Regions from separate parts of the Homo sapiens genome. Here all the other regions are linked to region 5. The links are contacts of gene promoters, found by promoter capture Hi-C in blood cells and fetal thymus (Javierre and others, 2016). All regions are on one chromosome and are shown on one strand. The core of a region is centred on a gene start or on the middle of the fragment in contact, and the rest is flanking DNA. Distances in the headings are between cores, read along the strand shown. Region 1 overlaps COLEC12 (collectin subfamily member 12). Region 2 overlaps COLEC12 (collectin subfamily member 12). Region 3 overlaps COLEC12 (collectin subfamily member 12). Region 4 overlaps COLEC12 (collectin subfamily member 12). Region 5 holds the start of CLUL1 (clusterin like 1). Region 6 has its middle 16 kb from the start of YES1. Region 7 overlaps COLEC12 (collectin subfamily member 12).

The links. Contacts are between HindIII fragments. The CHiCAGO score rates a contact against its expected background, and 5 or more counts as called.
Region 1: a fragment that was not itself captured here is called in contact with the fragment with the promoter of CLUL1 in region 5 in 3 of 17 cell types (M2 macrophages, M1 macrophages and M0 macrophages); the score reaches 8.6 in M2 macrophages.
Region 2: a fragment that was not itself captured here is called in contact with the fragment with the promoter of CLUL1 in region 5 in 4 of 17 cell types (M1 macrophages, M2 macrophages, monocytes and 1 more); the score reaches 9.1 in M1 macrophages.
Region 3: a contact is called between a fragment that was not itself captured here and the fragment with the promoter of CLUL1 in region 5, in 3 of 17 cell types (M2 macrophages, M1 macrophages and M0 macrophages). The highest score is 8.4, in M2 macrophages.
Region 4: a contact is called between a fragment that was not itself captured here and the fragment with the promoter of CLUL1 in region 5, in 4 of 17 cell types (M0 macrophages, M2 macrophages, M1 macrophages and 1 more). The highest score is 7.7, in M0 macrophages.
Region 6: a contact is called between a fragment that was not itself captured here and the fragment with the promoter of CLUL1 in region 5, in 6 of 17 cell types (naive CD4 T cells, naive CD8 T cells, activated CD4 T cells and 3 more). The highest score is 8.7, in naive CD4 T cells.
Region 7: a fragment that was not itself captured here is called in contact with the fragment with the promoter of CLUL1 in region 5 in 4 of 17 cell types (M2 macrophages, M0 macrophages, M1 macrophages and 1 more); the score reaches 8.8 in M2 macrophages.

The regions. Positions count from the first base shown.
Region 1 is chr18:410,022-412,721 of GRCh38, reverse strand. The region is part of intron 2 of COLEC12 (collectin subfamily member 12); the gene reads left to right. Among named protein-coding and RNA genes, the nearest start is that of COLEC12, 89 kb to the left of the region's middle. The HindIII fragment of the contact is 5,695 bases long and covers 1-2,700 here.
Region 2 is chr18:352,190-354,889 of GRCh38, reverse strand. The region is part of intron 3 of COLEC12 (collectin subfamily member 12); the gene reads left to right. Among named protein-coding and RNA genes, the nearest start is that of THOC1, 85 kb to the right of the region's middle. The HindIII fragment of the contact is 4,508 bases long and covers 1-2,700 here.
Region 3 is chr18:390,123-392,822 of GRCh38, reverse strand. The region is part of intron 2 of COLEC12 (collectin subfamily member 12); the gene reads left to right. All of the region lies in intron 1 of LOC107985155 (a long non-coding RNA gene), which reads right to left. Among named protein-coding and RNA genes, the nearest start is that of COLEC12, 110 kb to the left of the region's middle. The HindIII fragment of the contact is 6,658 bases long and covers 1-2,700 here.
Region 4 is chr18:447,647-450,433 of GRCh38, reverse strand. The region is part of intron 2 of COLEC12 (collectin subfamily member 12); the gene reads left to right. Among named protein-coding and RNA genes, the nearest start is that of COLEC12, 52 kb to the left of the region's middle. The HindIII fragment of the contact is 1,054 bases long and covers 930-1,983 here.
Region 5 is chr18:595,705-598,404 of GRCh38, reverse strand. CLUL1 (clusterin like 1) reads right to left here and starts at 1,417. Exons shown (of 10, transcript NM_001393344.1): 1 at 1,276-1,417. RefSeq lists an enhancer at 437-936 and silencers at 1,359-1,478, 1,539-1,668. The HindIII fragment of the contact is 7,229 bases long and covers 1-2,700 here.
Region 6 is chr18:827,166-829,951 of GRCh38, reverse strand. No RefSeq gene overlaps it. Among named protein-coding and RNA genes, the nearest start is that of YES1, 16 kb to the right of the region's middle. The HindIII fragment of the contact is 4,537 bases long and covers 1-2,786 here.
Region 7 is chr18:373,014-375,801 of GRCh38, reverse strand. All of the region lies in intron 2 of COLEC12 (collectin subfamily member 12), which reads left to right. It overlaps LOC107985155 (a long non-coding RNA gene), which reads right to left. Exons shown (of 2, transcript XR_007066264.1): 1 at 1-2,788. Among named protein-coding and RNA genes, the nearest start is that of THOC1, 110 kb to the right of the region's middle. The HindIII fragment of the contact is 6,080 bases long and covers 1-2,788 here.

The sequences.
Region 1 (2,700 bases), core at 91-2,590, 190 kb after region 5:
TAGTGAAGTACGGAAACTTTACCTCCCTTTATCCTTTCCATTTATAATATGTTTGTCTTTAAATTTACCTATATACATTAAGAACCAGACCAGTTTTATAATTTTTGCCTTATCATCAAGCATAATTTAGAAAACTCAAGAGGAAGAGAAAAGGCTATTGCATTTACCTATATTTTTGTTTGCTTTGTTCTTCCTTCCTAATATTGAAGGTTTTGTTTTCTTTCTTTCTTTTTTTTTTTTCTGTTTAGAGCACTTTCTTTAGCTAATTTTTCAGATTAGGACTGTTGGAGATATCACTTAGTTTTCCTTCCTCTGAGAATGTCTTCCTTTCCCCTTTCATTTCTGAAGGATATTTTTGCTGGATATAGGACTCTGGGTTATCAGTTTTTTTCTTTCAGCACTTGAAAACTCTCTCACCTCTTCCTTCTGGCTTCCATATTTTCTGATGATAAAATCACCATCATTCAAATTGTCTTTCCAATATAAGTAAGGTGTTTTTTTATCTTGCTGCTTTTAAAATGTTTTCTTTGTCCTTTGTTTTTGGAAGTTTAATTAGGATGTGTCTTGATGTGTATTTTTTTGGCTTTATCCTGTTTGGAATTCACTCATCATCTGAATATGTAGGTTCATTTCTCTTGCCAAATTTGGGAAGTGTTCAGCCATTTTTTCTTCTATTACTTTTCTATCTGCTCCTCCTTTCTCCTCTCCTTCTAGGACACTTATGACATAAATGTTAGATTTTTTGTTATAGTCCACAAATCCCTGAGGCTCTGTTATTTGCTTTTCAATCTATATTCGCTCTGTTATTCAGATTGGTCATTTTTACTGTTTTGTTTTCCAGTTCACTGATTCTCTCCCTATTTTCTCTGTTCTTTGTTTTTGTTTTTTGTTTGTTTCTGGTTTTTGAGACAGGATTTCACTTTTTTGCCCAGGAACTACAGGTGCATGCCACTACGCCTGGCTAATCTTTGTATTTTTTTGTAGAGATGAGGTTTCACCATGTTTCCCAGGCATGTCTCAGATGTCTGGGCTCAAGCGATCCACCCATCTTGGTTTCCCAGAGTGCTGGAATTACAGGCGTGAGCCACTGTGCTCAGCCTGCTCTGTTCCAATGAGTTTGATTGATAAATAACTTTGGTTATTTATTTTTTAGTTCTAAATTTTCATCTGGTTCTTCTTTAGGTCATCTATTTCTTCTCTGAGATAGTCAGTTTCTTTTCCAAGGCTTTTTTTTCTCTTTGTTTGAAACATATTAATAATTGCTCATTGAAGTGATTTATCATGGCTGCTTTTTAATCTTTGTCAGGTAATCCTAAAATCTCTATCATCTCAGTCTTGGCATCTATTGATTGTCATTTTTCATTGCATTTAAGATCTTCCTGTCTCTTGATATGACAAGTGATTTCAGCTGAAACCAGGATATTTTAGTATTATGTTACTAGACTCTGAATCACATCAAAACCTTTTGTTTTAAGCTGGCTTTCTCTGGCAGGACTTCAGCAAGGGACGGGTAGGCATCACCTCATTACTGCTTAGGTGGATGCAGAAGTCCAGGTTTCTACTGGATCTCCATTGATACCTGAGTGGTATCATCATTATTATTGCTAATTATTAAGCATTATTGGTGGGAAGGGATAGAAATTCCAGCTCTCCGTGTGGTTCTTTTGATAGCGCAGTAGGGGTGGCTCCATTATGGGTAGGCAGTAGTAAAAATCCAGTCACTCTACTAAGCATTCTCTTACCCCACCCCAGTGGGGTACAGCCCAACAGGTGAGGAGAGTCTGGGTTCCCCACCCAGGCTTTGCTGGCATGGGTGGAGGTGGGGATTCTGTGGTTTTTGGCTGGTGTTGAGCATTTATTATTGAAAAGTTTTCTATTTTGCTAGGCTGCTTCATTCCTGAAGAGATGAGCTTTTTTCGGATATTTTTTTTTTGTCTGTGCTCTTTGGCATTTCCAGGTTGTTGTCTTCTTCACTATAAGTCTAGGATAGAAATAATTGCCTGGTGTGATGGCTCACGCCTGTAATCCCAGCACTTTGGGAGGCCAAGGCGGGCAGATCACCTGAGGTCAGGAGTTCGAGACCAGCCTGGGCAACATGGTGAAACGCCGTCTCTACTAAAAATACAAAAATACAGCATGCCTGTAATCCCAGCTACTCGGGTGGCTGAGGCAGGGGAATCACTTGAACCCAGGAGGTGGAGGTTGCATTGAGCTGAGATCATGCCACTGCACTTCAGCCTGGGCAACAAGAGCGGACTCCGTCTTAAAAAAAAAAAAAAGAAGAACAACTCAGCCATGTGTTGTTCTGTGAGTTCTGAGATCTCTAGCCAGGCTTCCTTTACTCCACCTTTCACAGTCTTCTTATGTTTGTTTCCTATCTGATGTCAGGATTTTAGTTATACTTGGCAGGAGAAGTGGGGAAAAGTGTGTCCACTTCATCTTCTACAAGTGGAAGTCCTGGAACTTTCATTTTTAGTTGACTTGGTTTTTCAAGCTCAATATTTTATGAACATGCTGCACCACTTAACAAAGCAGAAGGATACCAAACCACCTGCAGGAAACATTTGTTTCTAGGGTTTATGTGAAAGGAAAAGTGTCTACCATGTGCTTGGCACTTTATGCTTAATTTCACTTAATCCTCAGAAGAATGCTACAGGGAGGGTATTATTAACCCCGATTTACAGAGGTGAGAACTGAAGT
Region 2 (2,700 bases), core at 192-2,691, 240 kb after region 5:
TGGGGGCAGTCTCACCAAGATGAAGGAAGAAGAGATAATGGGGAGCAAGTACAAGGGGAAACGAGATGATGTCTTGCCCCTCTTTTCTTTCCTTCAGTGCCCCCCTCCTTCAGGCCTCCACTGACCAAAAAAAAGATAATACAACATGCACTTTTGCTTTCCAAACACACCATTAATGAACTAAAATGTTGATATTTTCCAGATGTGCTTTCTCTTTACTCACACAGTGACTCCTCTTTCTTGCTGGTAAGATTCTAGTGACCCAATGTTGTAAGAGGCAGAAAGATAAAACCCAGTTCTCCCTTCACACATTCCCCCTTTGAAGTCTAGAGAAACTCTCTCCGTTACAAAAGAAAGAAAGAAAAGAATATTCAATGAAAGAAACACAATAAGGCATTCCTCTGAAGGAGAAATCGAAAGGAAAGGAGTAAAAACTTTTATTTATCAGAGCTGGCAAAGGCAACTTCATACTGTTTTGCTCAAAATTGTTCTTTTCTTCTTTCATGTCACTTACATAGCCACAAGTTAGAATACAATGAGCTTCCATCAAGAGAATTTGCTGAAGAAGCCAGAGAATCGCTCAGTCACCCAGACAGGGTCTGTGCAGTGGTCGTGACTGTGAGGCGTATCAGCCACTTTGCAGAAAACATGTTCTTGGACAGTTGAGCTTGGTACATCCTCTGCCCCGGGCTTTTTATCATTAGTCAACAGAGCTTCCATAGCAGGAGTCATCTCTTAAGTTCAATGTGTCATGTTTCTTCCAGAATATTTCCTGAACAGGAAAATCCTACTCCATTATCCTTTCCAACAGGCAACCTTCTAAAGGTAATTAGGAAAAAGAAAAAAGACAGAAATCTGAATCTTTCTCAATAAGGATCTCCTTTAATTCAACATTCCTAGTCACTGGTAGTCTACTTTGCTGCTAAGCTGGGTCAGTGTAGCAGTTTACAACTGGATTACTATTTAGGCTTTCAAAATACACATCAAATCACACTGGAGAGCGCTTTAGGATCCAGGATAACACCCTACAATCAGATTTTCTGTATTTCTGTAAGGAAACCTAAAATGGTGTTCAAGGTAGAAATGCCTTTATTAAATTCCAGAGGAGTGTAACTAATGTTACTGGGAAGCCCCAGGTCCCAGAGAGAGGAAGTATTTATCCCACAGTGCCATGATCAGTCTGGTACAAAAACGTGTGAGCACCAGCTAGGAGCTCTGTGCTCTGTCCTCAGGGCCGAGACCATGGCCTGTGTCTCTTGAATCCTCAATGTCTAGCACTATGCCACCTACATGGCAGATACTTGGTAAATGTCTGGTGATGTTAACTTTAAAGAGAATATAAACAGAAATAATTCTTCCCCTTAAGGGATTCTTTATTGGAGGAAACCAGATTTAGGAAAAAGAAATACCAAAAGAGAGGTGATACGGAGTCATAGAAAGAGCATGGATTTTGGAGTTAAACCTTCCAGCCTGGTATCCCACATAGTCACTGACAAGCTGTGTGACTTTTTAGCAAGTTACTGAACATCTGTGAGCCTCAATCTCTTCATCTACAAAACAGCAGTTGGAAGGATTAACTGCAGTGATGGTGTAGTGCATCCGGCAAAGAGCAGGCACTCGATAAATAGAGGCTATTATTATTATCATTCAAATAAAGATCGAGTTGGTGTGCAGTGGAATCAACTTGTAGGTGTGGCTGAGTACAATGGGGTAGTGAGGTGTGGAGCGGACCTTCAAGGAGAAGTGGAGTCAAGACGAGGGAAGAAGAAGTTAGTGGCCCAGGCCAAGGGATGATACCGAAGTGCTTTTATAAAAAAGGTTTTATTGTCAGAGTATCCTAGAGAATTATACTTTGGATACTTGAAGAGGGACAGATCTTCAGGTATAATACCTGAAACACCAATATTCTGTAGAAAAATTCTACCTTAAGAAACAATTCCCAATACAGGAGAGCCTATGAGAAACCAGACTGCTGGTCACCCTTCTGTGTATCCTGCTCATTTTTCTCATGTGAGAATGGTCTGCAAACTGAGGTCTATGTCTATAGACTGGGAATTTCCAGGGTAATACAGGATGGCTCTGCGACTGTATTCCTGATTGAGAATTGGTGCTAATAAATTCAGAATAAAAGTCAATGAAAGTGCTGTGTGCTGTTACAGCAAGGGTAAGTTCTGGATCTCCACCAGTCTGGTATTTTTATGCAGTAGCAGGTTCCAGCATTGCAATCCTAACATTTCCAGCTTTATACCAGATCCTATTGTTAAACAAAGACACACACCCCCCAGTGCATGTAAACTGTTCATTAGCACTTGTGGGCAGGGAAAATAGTTTCCTTTTGCTGCACAGAAGAAAACGTCGACAGATTTTTTTTGTTCTTTTTTTTAATGAATGTATTTATCCCTTTTGTATTTATTCTACACAAACCTGAGTTATCTGTCCATGACAGTTCTCTGTTTTTCAAAACTAAAATGGAAGAAAAAGTAGAAAGGGTAGAAAATGACTGACTGTCAGCATATTTGAAGGTTTCTTTGGCTTCCAGGAAAGAAGGGCAGGACTTGAGATCCTGCATGTGGTTTGAGGACAGACCGAGGCATATGTTTTGATTTGAGGATCAAAACTGAACCTAAACCTGTAAACATTCTGTATTTTAGTTCTTAAAAATTAGCTTTGCTAAAAACACATATGCAACATTTTATTCTT
Region 3 (2,700 bases), core at 39-2,538, 210 kb after region 5:
AGTGCAGTCCAATGGCTCAGCTCAAACCGGCCTGCATTAGGGCTAGGTTGTTAAGTAAAGTTTCCTGCCCTGACAGCACATGTCTTGCTGTGAACTCTAGGCTGGAAGTGGGCCCATAAAAGGCCCTCACATTTTAGGAGTAAAACTGTGGGCTAAGCACCTTTTGAGATTTGGCCCTTTTTCCTTAGTAGCTGAAGTAATTGTGTGATGCACAAACCTGGGTCCAGAAAGCTGGGACAAGGGTGTGGCATTTCACCAAATAGCATCTGAAATGGGGGCTAAAAGAGAGTGTAAGTTTCGCCAAATACCAAATCCTACATATTTATATAACATGGTATAATTTATAAACTATATTCCCATCCAGTATGTAATTTAAATTGCATAAAAACCTTGTACAGGAGTCGTGTGATTATCACATTATAGATGGGAAAACTAAGGCTTGATCAAGTTAGCATGGATGTTCGGTGACAAAACCAGAATTGTAACCCAGGTCTTTTGATTTTAGTGCAGTTATTTTTTACCTTTCAAGGTTCAGGCGAGTTATCCAGAAGAGTAGTGAATTGTAGGTAATGATAGCCATGCCCAGCAGGTACCAAGCTACAGTAGCACAAGTTGAAAAATTACAAACACTGTAGGTAGGGAAGGCTTTCTGCAGTTAACTTAGAAAAAAGCATCCATTTGATTGGCAAGAATGCTCCAAGGATGCTCTTTGTTCACGGAGAGACAGGCACAGTCTGGTTCCTGGATCCCATGAATGGCCCCAGGTATACACTGGCTAGTAGAGACAATCCAAAGATTTGTTCTTTCCACCCTTTATTTACCAAACATGCAAAGTATGATGCCACGTATGAATTGTGGATGAGGATATTCTCAGCAGAATGCGAGATTATTTTCACAATCATTGTAGGAACTTTAAATAATCTTACCTGTTGATATTCAATAGCCAGATCTTCCCAAAAGTCCTTACTCATTGTAAATAATAAGGATAAACTTGAACTCTAGGTTTTAAAGATTGCCTTTCTGAGTGCTATACTTAAGTAAAAATAACTATTGCCACCTCCTGCCAACATTTTCATTAAACATCTAAAAAATAACTTGGTGTGTGGTGGAGAATTGGTGGATATAGACTGTTTTCTCTGGTTCCCCCTGAAAATACCAAGATGGGAGATAAATTCAGACATTGATAGCTCTGCTGCCACAGTGCACTAAATTATAAACTAGTGTCCCAAAAGACAGGATTCTCCTCCCAATCAACAAGAGTACTTATAACCAGAGAGCCATAGGTGCTCAGTATAGAACCAAAACAACAACAACAACAAAAACCCCCAATTTATAGTCAGGGAGGAGATTCCGGACCTCAGTACCATAGGTGGACCTGGTACCACAACACATGTGTATTCGCTGAAGAACTGAGACACTTTGATGCAATTATTTGCCAAAGGTTTCAAAAAGCAATCCACCCCCAAATTGTGGAGGGTAAAATGTTCTTTCCTGTTCTCTTCTCTGTTTGCGCACACACAGTACCACTCACCGCATTCCAGTTGGCACCTGCACACACTCCTAAAATAAGAGAATGTGTAATCTCCTGAGTCTCTTTTGGCTCAAAGCATTGAGAGTTTTCAGAGACTGGGTCTACAAGATGCAGGAAGCTACACACCAATAGCCCTCCTCACGTTAAGGCGATAGGAATAAGACCCCCTGACAGCCAAATCTGAGACTTTGGTTTAGAAAACCCATCATTTAGAAATGGCTTTGTAATAAAACCGGAAATTCAGGTTTTTGTAAAAAAAGTAATAGAAAAAAAGAGCGGACCAGTTCCCCATGGGCACACAGCTGCCCACAGCTGCTGCCTGGTTACTTCCTGACAGACATGGGTTTGCTGCTATGGGAACGATGTCTGTCCCACAGGCAAGGAGTGTCCCTGTGCCCGTGTGCTTGCTGCTAAACAGTGACAAGGACATTAGGAAAACAGGGCCTTCTTAACTCTTGAGGATGACAGTGCATGCACCAAAGAAACCAAAGGAGCCGTTGCCTCTGCTATCATTTTTCTTCTTTTTTTTTCGGAGACGGAGTCTCACTTTGTGGCCCAGGCTGGAGTGCAGTGACACAATCTCGGCTCACTGCAACCTCCCCCTCCCAGGTTCAAGCAATTCTCCTGCCTCATCCTCCCGAGTAGCTGGGACTACAGGCACACACCGGCATGCCTGGCTAATTTTCGTATTTTTAGTAGAGATGGATTTTACCCTGTTGGCCAGTCTGGTCTCGAACTCCCGACCTCGGGTGATCTGCCCACCTTGCCTCCCAAAGTGCTGGGATTACAGGCATGAACCACTGTGCCTGACCCTCTGTTATCTTTTTAATCTTTTAACACAGAAATAGTTATTTGCTGAATGATCCTTAGCCCATTGAACTGGTTTAATGGAACATACAGCAACAACAGAAAGCTAAGTCCCAGACAGTAGTTTCTGCTTTGGAAGAGTGTAACTCAAGTTTGTCATCCTGCCTCTTTTTCAGAAATAGCTCGAAGGAGGAGAGGTATGGCCCATCTTTTTGCTTTTATAGCAAATCAACATTTGGGCAGCACGATGGCCTCCCTTCCCAGGTTTTAGGAACACCTGAGGCCTGTTCTTGGGAAGTGCAGCTGTGATTGGTGGGGACCTAGCCCCCTGCTGGGCAAAGCACTTCTAGGTCCTGGGAACT
Region 4 (2,787 bases), core at 207-2,706, 150 kb after region 5:
GTAAACCACCAGATCTCAGAAGAACTCACTCACAATACAGTGCCAAAGAGGGTTAGTGCTAAACCATCCATGAGAGCTCTGCCCTTATGATCCAGTCACTCCTCCCAGCAGGCCCCCCCTCAACATTGGGGATTACAAATCGACATGAGATTTGGCGGAGACACAGATCCCAAACCTTACCAATGACCCAGTGAAATAGGCGGAAAAGACATTTTCCGAGAGCTGGAAGGAGAACCAAAAGAGTGTGGTGTTATGGAAGCCGAGAGAGTTTTAAAAAAGAAAGTCCTTGTGTTTTCATCAGTAACTTTGTTGTGTATCAGTGTTTTCCCTTCATGTAACTTAAATGTCCACTAATGCAAGTGAAGGCAATCTATGCCTAATTTCTTCACTAAATATTCTACTAATAAATGATTTACTGACAAAATGAAATTATATAACTGAAAAGGTTTAAAAATGATAAGAAATATCCCAATGGAAGCTGTTTTTTAAATAATGTTATTACTGTCAGTAACAAAATTATGATGACACAGGTCCAACACCTTTTAAAAGAGAGGAGGTAAAAAGGAGAGTTGGATATGAAGAATCTCAGACTGCAGTGCAGCTCTGAGAAAGTCTCAGCCAGGTACATGGGTGCCCGGGAGCAGAGATTGCCTGTCAGAAGGGCCCCATGAGGGCAGAAGTGACCTGGCTCTCGTGTCCCTGCCATGATCAGTCATTGGCTGTAAGCAGACTCCGCCCGGACTGTGTGGCCTCGGCAGGAATCACGGTGGCAGATTGAGAGGGGCAGTGCTGGAGGCTGTCAGCTGGCTAGGCATCCCTTATTGCTGAATAGCTTACTGAGGGCGTACCTCCGTGGCTGCCTAGTGAGTCTCTTTCTGTAAAAGCAGTTCAGTGTGGGAGTCCCTGAGAGAGAGTTTGCTGCAGAAGCTTCATTACAGTGACCTATGAAGCAACTGACAGCTTTGCAGAGTTTGTTTCCATTATGTTGCAGGTCTCCTTCAAAACAAGTTTTGGCACTTTTGATGCCAACTAGAGTGTAAACTATATTTTAGAGCGACTAGTTTAGAGTGTAAACAACAGTAAGTGGAGCAGATTTCCTCTCAACTTAGCCTCAAAGATAACCTCTCACACTAGAGTTATTTTTTTACCTAATACTTCTTTTTTTCCTGGTTACTGAAATCATACACACTTACTATAACAATCTGTAGAAATGTGTAACTTAGAGAGTAAAAGTCTTCTATAATATTCTATCCCAAAATATAATCATTGTTTTAAAAAGGTATGTATTCTACCTTAAAGTCCACTTTTATTGTTATATTTTACTATAACATTCTAATTATAATATTTTATTATAATTTATAGGTTTCAGTATGATTTCAATGAAAGATGAATTCTGGCAAACAGTATTTATTCCCCTTTCCCCGCTGGGTGTCATTTCTTTGGGAATAGAAAAATGACCTTGTTTTGTGTATCTAGCCAACAATTCTTTTTAATATTTGTGAGTATACCAAATGTACAATATTCCTTCAACTGAAGTAACTTTTTAAAAGAAACTAGAATTTATTCCTCCGTATGCTTTATTTTCATGAGGTTTGGGTACAGTATAGTAAATTTAAAAATCTTTTGAACTCTTTAAAATGGTCTTTGTACCTATATAATAGAAAAGGATCTGTTCAAAAAAATTCTTGCCACAAATTCCTTTTGATCATTTTCATTTACTTAATTGCTCTAATTTATGCTTATTTTTGTCCACTGACAACCTAATTGGCCTCACAGACTTCTCATTTTATTCAAAGTCCACCAGCAGTTACTTCTTTTGAATACCACCTCCCCTTTGGACTCCACGGGAATTTGGACAATAATTGTGATGGGTTTGGCAGGGGCTTGGGGGTTGGGCTGCTCATATATTATGAAAAGCCTTAGTAGAGAAAAATTACATTTCAAGTTAATTTGTTTTTATATAACAGAGTCTGGGTCTAAGCTTTCCTTCACCACATACCCATTGAGGGTTTTAGGAAGTCAACATGTTTACACTGTATCTTAAGTCAAGGGTCCTGTTTTTATACAGGGTTTGCCAAACCAAGTTTACTACAGTGGTGTTCTGCCAGCACAAAGATTACAGGATCAGACTTTAGCGAACGCTCGTTTGCCAGAGTCATGTTTTATCTATTCAACCCCAACCACCCTGATTCATTTTGGAAAGTCTACTCTGTTTATCCCACGATGATGACAAAGTGGTTAAAAAAGAAGATTACTACAAAAAGTGATATTTTCAAGAGAGACACAAAGGCACTGATACAGACAGGCTTTAGAGAAAGACAAACTTTGTGGTACCACTTGGGTATTTGAAAGCAGCACAATTATTTTTTTTCAGTCACAGGGAGACAACATTTTCCCATTGAACTTTTTGGATACGTATTTTCACACACACTGTGCCCAAAAGTCAGATTCTCTCCTCCATCCCACCCCTAACCCAAATTACAATTTAATTTGACTGCTGGCTGTTTTTGAAAAGAATTCTGAAAGTGATTGACCGCTACCAAAGATGAAGATTGTAGTTTTTCTCCTGATATGATTATATTCTTGATATATTCTTGCTGTAGGGGACAAAAAGTGATCAATAGCTTTATGCTTAGTAAAATCAGAGAGGACAGGACTTGCAATTTAATGGTTTTACCTTTATGTTTACTACATATTAGCAAAGTATCTAAGCTCTGGAAACTGTGTCTCCCTGTAATGTTGTCAAGTATATGTGGAGAGGTGAATTTTACAGAAGGAGAAACTGGG
Region 5 (2,700 bases), core at 168-2,667:
GACCCTTTACACTGGAGAGGAAGACTTGGGAAACAGCCACATCTCACTGTTTGAGGGACCTGGAAAAACAGATCATCGTGACTTTCTTCAAGGTCACGCAAAGTTTAAGTGATTTTTACTGTCCCACATTCCAGCATGTCCTCTTCTATGCATTCATTTCCCATGGTAGTTCATCATTCTCTATTTATGGCATTTTTATTAGGTAACAGTATCTCATCTCTTCCCGATAATTGTGCTGCTGCATATTTTTAGAAACTTTTCCACCCGCCATTGTCAGGGACTGAGGAGTTGCATTAATGTTGAGTTTGAAAATTCTGTTCTTGCATCAGGCAGGTAAAAGTGGCCTTATTAGTATTTCTGTTTTCAATGTCTGGAGAAAAGTCCCAGGGAGAGAAAAACAAGATAAAGCATCATGTTGTCCACTGGTAAAATCTGTACGTGGAAAGTAGGCTAAGCTAGAGTAATCGGTTTAAGGTAGCAGTTAATAGTGTCTGCAGCTCTTTACTTCGTTAACCTCAGTTAACCAGGACCTGGCACAATGGGGATTGAAATCAGGGGGCTTATCCACAGTTTCCTCAAATACTGATTTTATCAAGTTGGGCTGATAATTCCATAAACTGTATGAGCATTGATAGTTAGATGTGATCGTTTTCAGAGTGATTCTTTTTCTGCTTGGGTTTATTTATTTATTTATTTTGAGACAGAATCTCACTGTGTTGTCCAGGCTGGAGTGCAGTGGCGCAATCTCGGCTCACTGCAACCTCCGCCTCCCGGGTTCAAGCGATTCTCCTGCCTCAGCCTCCCAAGTAGATGGGATTACAAGCATGCACCACCACAATCGACTAATTTTTGTGTTTCACCATGCCGGCCAGGCTGGCCTCCAACTCCTGACCTCAAGTGATCGGCCCCCCTCGGCCTCCCAAAGTGTTGAGATTACAGGCGTGAGCCACCACACCCGGCTCCGCTTAGTTTTTGCCAGTAGTTTTGCAGGGATGGTGTGTCTCCCCGCCTCTACCTCCTCCTCCTGTTTTGAAAAAGAGAATAAACGTATTGGAACAGCCCAGGAGATTGCCTGAGTTTTGCTGGCAGCCTCTGAAGCAGCCCACAGTATTTCTACCTTCCCCGGCAAGAACAGTGGCTTTGTTCTGTCCGCGCCGGAGGGGCCGGGCGTCTGCGGAGCTCGGCCTTGGACTTGGGAGCGGCTTTCTCTGGCTCTCCGGAGAAATGGGCAAGAGCGGCGAGGAGAGAAATCTGGGGCCCGGAGGATGTTCTCACCTGTCATTCCTAAGATGCGCTTGAGTGCTGCCCCCTGGAGGCGTCTGTGCCACCGGCTGGAAGTCAGCCGAGGGCACAGGGTGTCAGCAACCTCCAGGGTGGAAACCAACCCCGCGGCCCGGGCCTGCAGGTGACGCAGGGTGGGCGGGGCCTGCAGACGCCGGGTGGGCGGGGCCTGCAGGTGACGCCGGGTGGGCGGGGCCTGCAGACGCCGGGTGGGCGGGGCCTGCAGGTGACGCCGGGTGGGCGGGGCCTGCAGACGCCGGGTGGGCGGGGCCTGCAGGTGACGCCGGGTGGGCGGGGCCTGCAGACGCCGGGTGGGCGGGACCTGCAGGTGACGCCGGGTGGGCGGGGCCTGCAGAGGACCTGCGCGTCCGGATCTGAAGCGAGCAGAGCCCTCTCTACTCCAGCTGAACGGTGATGGTCGTCAGGAAGGAATGTGGGCTCACTGTGGAAAGAACATTCAGTTTTTCAAAAGAAGACAGAAATAGGGATGCTTATGTGAAATTCCTGATTTTTCAAACTTGGCAACTTAATTCAGTTAAAAAAAAAAAAGCATTTCTATGGCAGGACCACGAGTCATAGGTAGAACGCCTTGTACACATTAGAAAGAGAGCCTCGCTCTGGGCAGATAAAGCAGGAGGGGAAAAAAGTAGTGGGTCAAAGGTGCCTCTGAGCAGTTGCTCCCCTGCCCGACTGCTGGGCTTAATGCGATGGTCATGGCTGGATGTCAGCCTCCCTGTGGGGACACTGACACAGCTGCAGCAGCCCTGAGAGAGTCGCCAAGTGGGCCTGCCCATGCCAGGTGCTGTCCTTGGGCCCCAGGTTCACAAACTCTGGATGCTGGAACAGGTAGCCAGAGAGGGCAGGAAAGGCAGTGCAACTTGCAAGTCTACCCTTGTTAAAGGGCCCTACAATTGTAAAATTTCATGCCCCCCATATCCCAAACATCCTCTCCGTATTCCTGGATGATGAACGTTGGCTTGGGAGGCATGTTTACTCTAGGCAATATTTTTCTGAGGTTATTATACTCTGTGTGTGAGGAAGATTCATCTATGTATCCACTTTATCTTTTGGGAGTACATTTCACCTGTTGTTATTTTTAACATCTTCCCTTGATTGACCTGCTCGTGCTGGACCTCTTTAAATTATTTCTAATTCTGACAACATCCTGACAAGGTAATATAATTCCACTTACTTTACAAATAAAGACACTGAGGCTTCAAGAAGTAATTTTTCCCCAGACCAGCTAGGAAATGGCTGTGCAGAGCTTCAAACCCAGGTCTGTCTTACTAGGAGGCTGATGACTTTGATACTTCTACCTGAGATGGCAAAGTCTGTGTCTCTTCTCCCTGACGTCATCTAATGAAGATCTATGCTGTCTGAGCACTTAATGCCTAAGAATCTTCCATTTGGTGCCTTCCC
Region 6 (2,786 bases), core at 257-2,756, 230 kb before region 5:
TAATTCTAATCATTTCATCACCTTGAGACAGGGTCTTGCTCTGTCACCCAGGCTGGAGTGCAGTGGTAGAATCACAGCTCACTGCAGCTTCAACCTCTCGGGCTCACGCGAGCCTCTCACCTCAGCCTCCCAAGCAGCTGGGACTACAGTCATGTACCACCACACCCTGCTAATTCTTTTTCTTGCCCAAGCTGGTCTCAAACTCTTGAGCTCAAGCAGTCCGCCTGCCTCGGCCTCCCAAAGTGCTGCAAGTACAGGCTTGAGCCACCTCGTTTGGCCTCTAGCTCAGTAATTAATCTGACACTTGGTGACTGGCATACTGGTTTGCATTTCTCATTCCTCAGTTTCCTCGCCTGTAAAATGGGGGTAGTGACATCTACCTATTCATCTTTTAAGATTGTTATACGGATCAAATGTGATAATAAAATAATTTGAAAAATATAAAGTATTATTTGGCATAACGTAATATTATATTTGTGCCACTGAAATCTAAATATGTCATGATGCAAACATACTGTATATTTTATTGATTGAGTCAACCATCATGTCTTGTTTAGTTGTTCATAGAAACTATTTTAGAATGAAAGGTTAAAAAGGCAACATAATTAAGAAACACAAAGGAAAAGAAGACATTTGACTTCTGCTATTATAACTTCTCCAAAGTTTCATTTCAAATCAAATAAACATTTTTGCATAAATAAAACTTAGTTGTTCTTAAACTTTGTATATTAAAAATATACAGATTTTCGGCCAGGCGTGGTGGCTGATGTCTGTAATCCCAGCACTTTGGGAGGCTGAGGCGGGTGGATCACCTGGGATCAGGAGTTCGAGATCAGCCTGATCAACATGGAGAAACCCCATCTCTACTAAAAACACCAAATTAGTCAGGCGTGGTGGTGCATGCCTGTAATACCAGCTACTCGGGAGTCTGAGACAGGAGAATCGCTTGAAGCCGGGAGGTGGAGGTTGCGGTGAGCCTAGATCACGCCATTGCATTCCAGCCTGGGCAACAGAGCCAGACTTCGTCTCAAAAAAAAAAAAAATATATATATATATATAATATATATATACACACACACACAGATTTTCTTATAGGGCTACAGAATTTAGATACATAACTTATGTTTTTCTCAGAGACAACAATACTAAATATTCTTTTTTTTTTTTTTTTTTTTTTTTTGAGACGGAGTCTCGCTCTGTCGCCCAGGCCGGACTGCGGACTGCAGTGGCGCAATCTCGGCTCACTGCAAGCTCCGCCTCCCGGGTTCACGCCATTCTCCTGCCTCAGCCTCCCCAGTAGCTGGGACTACAGGCGCCCGCCATCGCGCCCGGCTAATTTTTTGTATTTTTAGTAGAGACGGGGTTTCACCGTGTTAGCCAGGATGGTCTCGATCTCCTGACCTCATGATCCACCCGCCTCGGCCTCCCAAAGTGCTGGGACTACAGGCGTGAGCCACCGCGCCCGGCCCTAAATATTCTTAAAATTTTTATCACATGCTTACTACATACCAGGCACTATACTAGGAATTGAAGACAGGAATGTAAATGAGGCTGGGCGTGGTGGCTCATGCCTGTAATCCCAACACTTTGGGAGGCCAAGGCCTGAAGATCACTTGAGCCCAGGAGTCTAAGACCAGCCTGGGCAACATGGAGAAACCACTCCTCTACAAAAAAAAAAAAAAAAAAAAAAATATATATATATATATATACACACACACACATATATATCCATATATATATGTATATATATACATATATATATATATATATATACGTATATATATATATATAAAAATTAGCCAGGCATGGTGGCACGCGCCTGTAGTTCCAGCTGTTCAGGAGGCTGAGGTGAGAAGATTGCTTGAGCCTGGGAGGTCGAGGCTGCAGTGAGTCGAGATCACACCACTGCACTCCAGCCTGGATGACAGAGACCCTGCCTCAAAAAAAAGAGAAAACAGAAATGTAAGTGAATGGTTTCTGCAATGCAGGAGTATCACAACTCAATATTTGGAAAGACTATTTATCTGATAAAATCAAAGAAGTAGTAGTGGTATGCCGTATTTATTAAATGCATTAATATTTCCTATTAGCCAGGTGCGGTGACTCACGCCTGTAATCCCAGCACTTTGGGAGGCCAAGGTGGGCAGATCACCTGAGGTCAGGATTTCAAGACCAGCGTGGCCAACATGGTGAAACCCCATCTCTACCAAAAACACAAAATTAGCCAGGGGTGGTGGCACGTGCTGGTAATCTCAGCTACTCGGGAGTCTGAGGCAGGAGACTTGCTTGAACCCGGGAGGCAGAGGTTGCAGTGAGGTCAGGCAACTGCACTCAAGCCTGGGTGAAAAAACGAGTCAAAAAAAAAAAAAAAAGAGGGAGACAGAGAGAGAGAGAGAGAGAAGGAAGGAAGGAAGGAAGGAGGGAGGGAGGGAGGGAAGGAAGGAAGGAAAGAAAAGAAAGAGACAGAAAGAGAGAGAGAGAGACGAAAGAAAGAAAGAAAGAAAGAAAGAGAAAGAAAGAAAGAAAGAAAGAAAAAGAAAGAAAGAAAGAAATCTTCCCGACTGCCTTCAGTGTGAGACACTGGCTTTTTCCCTGACTTCATTGGCTTCCTGGTTTTCAGGCCTTCAAACTCTGCCTGGACCTACCCTACCTGCTCTCCTGGGTCTATAGCTGTTGACTCACCCTACAGATGCTGGGACTTCTCAGCTGCCATAATCATGTGAACCAATTCCTTCTCATAAGTGTCTTTCTATGTATATTACATCCTACTGGTTCTGTTACTCTGT
Region 7 (2,788 bases), core at 185-2,684, 220 kb after region 5:
TCTGGGGAGACAATGGGCAGTTCAACCAACAAAGATCTCTGCCTGCATGGAACTCACATTCTTGTTAGGGAGGCCAACAGATAAGTAAAATACATAAGTAAATGAAATGGTGATAAGTGCTATGAAGAAAAATAAACAGAGCTAAGTGTGGTCGTGCACGCCTGTGGTCCTACCTACTCAGGAGGCTGAGGTGGGAGGCTCGCTTGAGCCCAGGAGTTTGAGGCTGCAGTGAGCTATGAGTGCACCTAGGAATAGCCACTGCACTCCAGCCTGGGCAACATAATGAGACTCCATAGCTAAATAAATACATAAAATAAACAAGAAAGGGAGATGGAGGCATGGGGGAGGAGGATTGCATTTTTCAAAAGAATGGTCAGGGAAGGCCTCTCTGAGAAGATGATGTTTTTAAGTAAAAACCCGAAAAAAGGGAGAAAGCCATGAGGGTACCCACAGGAGAGTGTCCTAGGCAGAGGAAACGGCCCATGCAAAGGCCTTGTGGTGGCAGGCCTGGTGTGTTCGAGGCCTGGTGAGGAGGCCAGCATGGCTGGAGTCGAAACAGCAAGGCAGGCAGCTTTGGAGGCAGACAGTGTAGGGCCTCATGAACCTCAGCTCTTTCTCTCAGGAGAGGAGAAGCTCCCAGAAGAGCTTGAGCAGAGGAGGGACTTGACCCAGATGAAACTAGGTGTGAGGAAGGACACTTCTATTTGTGCACTGCAGCTGCTGCTCCTGCTGCTGGTTCCCATGAGAACAGTTGCCAACTTTTCCAGACTAAGTAGGACACTTCTTAATGGGACATCTGGGCCTCCACTGTCGACATTGTACTTGTTGATTTTAACAACAGATGAACTTTCCCCAACTTCCCATGTATCTGTGTCCAGCCTCCTCCCTCCTTTTGGGTGGTTCTGTCCTTTGCCACTGCTCTGCACTGGATCGTCTTGATGATGCTACTTAACTGGCTACATAGACAGCTGCGGTCTGAACTCACCATGCATAACGTGTTGCTGTCTTGAGTTAGTTATTGGGGCCAGTGGCTCACAGATAAGTATTGCTTGGGCCAGGAAACCACAAGAATGAATGGGGAAGAAGGGTGAGGGAAATGTTTATAAACAGAATTGCCCCCTCAGTGGAGACTATGAAGCCTATTAGTATAACAAGCCGCCCCAAAACTTGCTAGTCTATACAAATTCTGGTGGGAAAAATTAGGATATCCTCATACTTCCTATGGGAGGCCAGGTATCACAAGTTCCGAGCCTCAGGCCTACAGGTGGTTTCTAGAGCCCATGGATCTCCTGAAATCATGCCCAAACATATGCCTGTGGGTGATTTTCAGGGGCGAGGTCATAGTTTCCATGTGGCTTGTTCTTTGAATGGCTTGAATGGCTTGATTGCAATTGCAGGTCATACTTTCAACACTGGCTGGTGTGTTACTGTATGTGCAAACGTGAAAAAATGTATGTATTTCAAAACAGAGTTTAAAAGGATCTTTTAATTCCCTAATATTAAAAGTCCATAATATCTGTATTTGACAAATATGGTGTTATCAGTATAGAAAGATAAATTATGGTCTCTTAGAAATTAAGGGATGTGTTTTTGAGGACATCGAGGTGTACTGTCTCCCAAGCTCTGTTTGCCGCTTTTCTCAATGGCTTTAAATCATCAGGAATTCACTCTCTGTATTAGATCATTTATTCTCATATGCCGCTCGCTGCCTTTGAAATACCTCCAATTCTAGCAATGGTTTACAGACATGCACAAGAGCCAAGTGGCTTAAAGCAACACCCTAGGACTTAGGTGTTTGGAAGCCCCTTATCCCCTGGAGTCATTTGTGGAACAGGGCCTGCATGCAAGAGGAGGCCCAAGCTCAGAAATGAGCAAAGAGCATGACTTAACAGGGAGGTTGTAGCGTCTTCACAGCAGAGTACAGTGAATAGAATTACATGTTCCTCAAGTCCCATTGGCTCATATTGGCATCATTCGGTACTGGACACAGGGTGTGCACCAAGTATATCTGTGAGTCAATGCTCACCTGCAGATGTACCACGAAGCATACCAGACAGAATTCTTGGGGGGAGGTGGGGGGCTGCTGCTTCTCCCAGGCCCTGGGGTTCTATCACAATATTTGATTCTACCCGGTTCAGATAAGCCCTTACGGGGATTCTTAGCTGGGACTTACAGAAATTGACAACGAGATTTGTTAGGAATGACTGATCCCATGCCCTGGAATGTAAGCCATGCACAGTTTATGGTACATAATTATATACAATAAACTATAAAGGACATACAGTGGATTTTGATATCAGGTTCCAGTTCCTCCTCACTGAGGAATTAGTACAAACCCTTCATCTGTGTGGCTAAGGAAATAGTTCTGGTCCTGCCCGAATCCGTTTCCATGTGTCCACATGGCCCTTTTTCCCCACCATGTACTTCTGACGGGAGAGGTCTGCTCCTTACATTAGGATCGAAAGCCTCGTGGGAGAAGTTGCAAGGTGTTCCCTTTCCAGCGGTCACTGTGGAGGAAAAAAGGATAACCGTATGACTGTCAGAGACGTGATCAAATAGGATGAGCTTACATTGGATAAGTAGACAAAATACAAAATCAGCAATAAGATTATGACACAGAAATCTGTGTATTTGTTCCTCAATTGCATACAAATTTCCCATTTTTCATCAAGATGGAAATTGAATAAGAGGAAAACTAAGAGGCTCTTATCACAGATGAGCTTGTGTTCCAGTTCACCATGGCTACCATCAGAGTTTTGTCCTGGTCACAGGCAGCTGTAGTCTGTGT